2 separate regions of the Homo sapiens genome follow, and region 1 is linked to region 2. The links are contacts of gene promoters, found by promoter capture Hi-C in blood cells and fetal thymus (Javierre and others, 2016). All regions are on one chromosome and are shown on one strand. Each heading gives the region's core, a stretch centred on a gene start or on the middle of the fragment in contact. The rest is flanking DNA. Distances are from core to core; before and after follow the strand shown. Region 1 has its middle 41 kb from the start of NACA2. Region 2 holds the start of TBX2 (T-box transcription factor 2).

Region 1 (3,123 bases), core at 281-2,780, 150 kb after region 2:
TTTCATCTTTTACACTAAAACTAGTATTTTGTCTGAAATTAATATTACTATATCTGCTTCCTTATTTTAACATTTATCTGGGATAGATTTTTCCATTTCTTCACTTCAAACTTTTCTTCATCATTTTATCTTATATATGAATCTTGTAAATAACATATGACAAGATTTTTTTAAAACCTAATTGGATTTTCTGTCCTTTAATTGGAAAATTTAACAGGTTTACATTTATTAAGAATACCGGTATATTTTGACTTAATCTTGCTACCTCACTTTATGTTTTCTATTTACTATTGTTTCTTTTTTTATTGTCTTCTGTTGGATTTATTTATTTCTTCTTTTTCCCTTTATTTATTGTTTTGGAAACTATATATTCCATTTTCCTAATGGATTCTTTTACATTTTACATTAAGCTTTCTAATTTTTCTCTTTTTAAAATCATTTGTGTATATATCTAGGCACCTCTTGGCCCCAACACGAATCTTAGCAAACATTCATCTTCTTTCTTGTACTTTTGTCTTTCTTCTTCTACTTCACACATTGAAGTCATCTGGTACTTTAGTTCCAGGTTGTTGTTAACTATTTTTCATTATGCTTGAATATCATCAGACTTATTCTAGGTTTTACTTCTTTGCTTACCGTTTGTTTCTGATATCTCTTATAGTCCTCTGAATTCCTTTTTTGGCAGGGGTTGGGATGGCTTATGTCTTTTAGTAATTCTCTAAAGAGAAAATTTGTGGGTGGTAAACTTCTAAGTCTTACTGTGTCTGCAAATGTCTTAATTTTTGTCTCACTATGTAAATATTAATTAACTAGGAATAATATTTTAGTTTTAAGATAATATTCCCTCATTATATTGAGCTATTATTTCATCTCAATATAATTTTGGTATCTAGTCCTAGTAATTAGACATGAAATGCCAATGTAAAATCTACGCTTTTGTAGATGGTTTTTCCTGTCTTTATTCTTGGTATTTTGAGGTAAGCCCACGATGCAGGCCCTTTCCATCTGCCTTCAGACCTGGGAAATTTTCTTCTATTATTTCTTTGATTATTTCCTCCCTTCCATCGGCTATGGTCTCTTTCAGGAGTTCTTCAAAATATGTAATCTGATAGACTTTTTCTTGTTTTTTGACATTTTATGACTTTTTTGGGAGAAACAGGCATATAATCAGTTCAAAATCTTAATCTAGTCTTTCTATGCATTATTAAGGAAATTTTAAGATAAATGTCAAATTATACTTTTGAATGTGATTGAATTTGGGCTCTGGTTATTTTTCCAAATAATATATTTTTAAAATCCTTGAATGGATTCCCTTTAGATAACTCTATGGAATTTTTCACTCCTTCAACCAATATTTATTTAGTGCCTAATTTTTGCTTGGCATTGTTCTAGGTTCTAAGGATTCAAAGTTTTTTAAAAAGATACAATTTTAAGGTCTGACACAGAGTTTCCCAACCTTGGTACTACCCATGTTTGACTGGATAATTCTTTGTTGTGGGAGGTTGTCCTGGCCATGAGAAGATGTTCAGCAGCATCTCTGGCCTCTACCCAATAGATGCCAGTAGCACCACCACCACCCCATTGCTGTGACAATAAAAAATGGATCCAGTCATTGCCAAATGTCCTCTGATGGGCAAAATTGCACTGCCCCCAGCACACTCTCTGTCACCACTGAGAATCATTGGTTTAGCAGGAGAAATAGCTAGTATACTACCGGGTCTATGGCAGTGGAAGAATATATAGAATGTTGGCACAAAGAAGGTAATGCCTGAGGTTCAGGAAATGTTTTACAATGCAAAAGATAACTTGGCCTGGATCTTAAAGGAAGAATTAGGTACTGGTCAGGTAAACAAGGAATAAGGGAAGAAAGAATAGTAATATTCAGGAGAAAAACAGCATGCGAAGACAGAAAGGTTGAAACAATTTGATGCATCTGAGAAACTCTTAGTAGTTCAGTTCAGTGTGTGGTTGGAATACAGATCTGAGGGCTATGGTAAAAAGGGAAGAAAACAATAGAGCTGGAGAGGTAGTTAGGGACAAGGTTATAAAGGAACAGGCAGGCTATGCTAGGAAATTTGTGCTTTGTTCAGCAGTGATGGAAAACCACTGGAAGTGTTAAGCAGGGAAATGGCATTTTAGGAAGACAGTTTTATAAATATGCAATGAATGGTTTAAAAAGATATGAAACTAGAAATAGGAAGACTGGATAGAAGAAAATTATAACAACCAAGTTAAGGACCCAAACTAGGGCAATGGGGGCCCGAGAGATGGAAAATGGGACATGCAATATATAGGAGGTAGAAATGATAAAATTTCCTGATTGTTATATGGAGAATAAAGAATTGGGAGGATTAAGGACAATGTCAAATTTTGGTGAAAAGAAAGGGTAAATGGAGCTGTTAGCAAATTGTGTTTACAGGTAGAAAATTCAAATAAATATCCCTGGGACAAAAACAAAAAACAAAGAAAACAAAAAAACCCTAAGTATCTTATAGCTCTATAGTTCTAAACACAATAGACAAGACATAAATTGATAGTTTTTAGAAAAACAGAACCAACACCCCCCATCTTTCCCAAAAAATCACTGTTTACTTTCATCACAACAAATTTCAACATCTTCTCTAAACATTTTCTCATGGTCTTTTTATCCCAAAGCTTTAAGAGAATGCTTTATATATATTTTTTCAAATTATTTCACTGTTAACTGATTTTTGACACATTATTTCAGCTGTTACAAAAGACTGTGAAATTTTAAGCCAAGATCGGACCATGAGGACTAAATTTTTTTGTTTATTAATGACATAAAAAATAGACAATTGTATCCATAAAATGACTTAAGTTCCATAAGCAACCATAAACGCCAAATAATTCAAGGTTTGGAGAATTTTTTTTTTCAGCATCTTTGCTGAAGAACTATGGTACTGAGGACCTCTACTGTTGAGAATATGAATGGCTTCACTGCTAGGATTAAATTTTCAGGGAATAAAAACATCAACCAGGCATAGGCAATCTACAGTCTGCCCAAAGTACAGAAATTATTTTCAGAGGCACACGGATAGTTGTGTCACTGGAACCTACGCAGAAATGCGTATGAGGTAGAATTTAGGTCTCCTCTCACCTTCT
Region 2 (3,359 bases), core at 441-2,940:
TTCGTTCTGGCCAGAGAGGAGGTACTAAGAGAGGTGCGACCTAGCCAAGAACGAGGTCGTGGAGAAAACCCTGTGGGGGCGGCGCTCACATATGCGGTGATGAGGAGTTGTGAGGGCCCTGGGGTCGGCCCCGAAAAGTAGGGATAACGGTCGCAGAGGCCATACTGCTTCCGCCGGTCCCGAATCCGCACTGCCAGGAGAGATCCGGCCTTCAAACGCTGCTCCCAACGTTCAACAACGAAGTGCCCTGCGACCGGTGTGCGCAGTGGGCGGGCGCCTGCATGGGTCAATGTTGGATGTACGCGCCCACCACGCGGTTGTACGGGTGGGAATGTCACCCGTGGCTAGTGCATGCTCTGTCTTTTCCTTCAGAAAACGACCTTCAGGAATCAGCCTGAGTGTTCGCGCCCGAGCCCGATTGGAAGCAGGTGCGTGGTCGCTTCACTCTCCCCGTGCACACCTTGAGTTATAGCTCTCGCTGCGCACAGAGGGCACCACACGGGGCCCGACACACACACACACACACACACACACACACACACACACACACACACCATCACTTCATGGGGGGGAAACTGAGGCTGCCGGAAGACAGAAAACGAAGACTGATCACAGAAGAGGGGGCTTCAATCACAGGTGCTCGCAGACACCCCAACTCCCTCACGCGTTACTCAGCACTCCTTAACTTAGGAGACGTGCGCTTCCGAGAGATGAGAAGAAACTAAAAAAGTGGTTGGCAGGGCGAAGAGAGGAAGCCGGTATTTCGGAAGAAGGAGACTTTCGTCTCCGGTACCGGATAGGGCGAAAATTCGTTGGGTCGCGGGTGGAGAATCCGGGGTCCGCCCGCGCGGTGCCGCCCTGTGCTCAGCGAAAGGTGCGCTCACCTTCCTGGCCCCGAGGATCCGCTCCTCCCGGCCGCTGGAAAGCTCAGGGCGGGGCCCGGGCCTGCGGAGAACTCCAGGTTCCTTCCGAGTCTTCCGGTGAAGGCGGGCGCGGGTAGGGGGTCCCCGCGTTTCCCCAGCGCAAGGCCGCGTCCCGCTCCCGCCCGCGCCGGCCCCAGCAGGGCTCGGCCATGGCTCCACTCACCAGCTCCCGCCACCTGGGATCCGCTCCCGGACCTCGGCCGCCCGAGCCTCCCGACTCGCCCGCCCACCGGCCTCGCTTTCCAGTGCCTGCTGTCTCTTTCCGGGGCGCAGGGACCCCCAGGCGGCGCCACGACCCGGAGCTGGGTCGGAGGCCAGGCTGGGGCTCGGGCCAGAGCGGCCGGGCCTCTGGGCGCGGGAGAAGGAGGGCGCCCCCTCTCCGCTCGGGGTCGTGTCAATGCTTTGCACTTGGGGCCGGCGTGCGGCTGCGGGTCCTTCCCCAAGGCCCCGGGACCCGGGCTCCCCTCGCCTCAGGCCCTTTCGGCGGGTCAGGTCGGCCCTCCGCGCTCTCCAGTCCGGCGCAGGCAGCCGCAGGCGCGGGCGGGCGGTGGGGGCCGGGGCAGGAGGAGGGGTCTCGGGGCCCGGCGGCCCGTCATTGGTTAATATTTTATTCTGTTGACATGTTTTCTTACTGCTGAGGCTTCCGACACCTTCTCCCAGGCCCCCCCTCCCGGCCGGAGCTTGGCCTGAGCTGTCAAAACCCCGCCCCCGGAGACCCACAATTGGTCCAAAAAGCGTAAAATCAGCAATCAAGGGGGGCCTGGCTCGTTAGCGCAGGGGATCCGAGCTGGGCAGGACATGTGAGATAGTCACAGTTTTCCAGAGATCACGACAAGATCTAACCAGTCGCGCGTGGTCCCCGGCGCCGGAGCGGGCCAGCTCAGCCCGGCCCAGCCCGGCCCCGCGCAGAGCCCCCGCCGCCCCCGCGCACAGAGCCGGGTGCCCCTTGCGGTGCGCCGGACGGGAAGCCCCGAGGAGCAGCTGCTGCGCCCGCCACCCGGGTCGTCCGTCCACCGCGCGCGCCGCCGCCCGGGCCGGGGGTCCGAGCCGCGCGCCCCCGGCCCCGGCCCCGGCCCCCGGGCGCCTGGGCCGGATGTCCCGATGAGAGAGCCGGCGCTGGCGGCCAGCGCCATGGCTTACCACCCGTTCCACGCGCCACGGCCCGCCGACTTCCCCATGTCCGCCTTTCTGGCGGCGGCGCAGCCCTCCTTCTTCCCGGCACTCGCGCTGCCGCCCGGCGCGCTGGCCAAGCCGCTGCCCGACCCGGGCCTGGCGGGGGCGGCGGCCGCGGCGGCGGCGGCGGCAGCAGCGGCCGAGGCGGGGCTGCACGTCTCGGCACTGGGCCCGCACCCGCCCGCCGCGCATCTGCGCTCCCTCAAGAGCCTGGAGCCCGAGGACGAGGTGGAGGACGACCCCAAGGTGACGCTGGAGGCCAAGGAGCTGTGGGACCAGTTCCACAAGCTAGGCACGGAGATGGTCATCACCAAGTCCGGGAGGTAGGGCTGCCGGCCGGCTGGAAGGCGCGCGGGCGGGCGGGCGGGCTGGGGCACGGGACTGCACGGATCAGAGCAGAGCTGGGGACTCCCGGCTCCCGGCTCCCGGCTCCAGGTTCTGGCCCTGACGCCACGCTTCGCTCCCACGGACAACCAAGTTGACTTTTCTCGTTTGGCACCGGAGCGATTTTTTTTTAAAACAAAAACGCTAAAATCCTCCGAATGAAATAAAACGAAAACATACTGCTAAAGAATAGCCCCAACCGTTCTGAGTCCCAGCGCAGAGGAGGCCCCGCGGCTTGGCCCTGGCGGTCTCCTCCGCCCCGCGCTCTCGCTCTTCTGCGTCCGGGTCCGTCTCCGAGCTCGGGGGAAATTCAGCCTCTCTCAGACTCTGCTCCGACCCCGAAGCCCCTAGTGGGACCTGGGCCCAGCTAACCCCACGCTGGTTGCTCGGTTCCTGGCAGCGAGCCCCGGGTCAGCCGAGCCCTCCGCCTCACCGGGCTGGGAGCCCTTTCTCCACCGCGGGCATCCGAGCCCTGGACGCATCCGCCGCCCCAGGCCTTAAAGCCTGAAGAAAGCCACAGCCCCGGCCCCTCCACCCTTCGACTCAGCCACCGAGAATCCAGGCCTCGGGTTCACCCTCTTCCCCCGAACTGCACGGCCAGGATGTCTTATCAGGCTCTGTAGCCCAGTTCCCAATACAAACACCCTCCAGATTTATTTCTGGGAGCTTCCGTCCCAAGTGGGTATTTCCCCTGAACGAATTTCGGGGAGATTAAGGAGAAGCGAGAATATTTCTAGAGGGCCTAGACTTCTCTCCTGGGCATCAGCTTTCATCTCAGATCAGGGAGAAAGAGGGTCCCCAGATCTGAGCACAAGGCCTAAAGGAGGCTGTTTAGGAGAGGGTCTGACAGGCAGAAATGGGATCTCCTGGGAGCAACAA

The links. Contacts are between HindIII fragments. The CHiCAGO score rates a contact against its expected background, and 5 or more counts as called.
Region 1: a fragment that was not itself captured here is called in contact with the fragment with the promoter of TBX2 in region 2 in 5 of 17 cell types (M0 macrophages, M2 macrophages, M1 macrophages and 2 more); the score reaches 9.1 in M0 macrophages.

What each region holds. Positions count from the first base shown.
Region 1 is chr17:61,548,424-61,551,546 of GRCh38, forward strand. No RefSeq gene overlaps it. Among named protein-coding and RNA genes, the nearest start is that of NACA2, 41 kb to the right of the region's middle. The HindIII fragment of the contact is 2,245 bases long and covers 409-2,653 here.
Region 2 is chr17:61,398,153-61,401,511 of GRCh38, forward strand. It overlaps TBX2 (T-box transcription factor 2), which reads left to right and starts at 1,691. Exons shown (of 7, transcript NM_005994.4): 1 at 1,691-2,419. The coding sequence starts at 2,025. It overlaps TBX2-AS1 (TBX2 antisense RNA 1), which reads right to left and starts at 1,454. Exons shown (of 2, transcript NR_125751.1): 1 at 1,087-1,454. RefSeq lists promoters at 648-1,908, 1,528-1,775 and a cis regulatory region at 1,764-1,775. The HindIII fragment of the contact is 11,976 bases long and covers 1-3,359 here.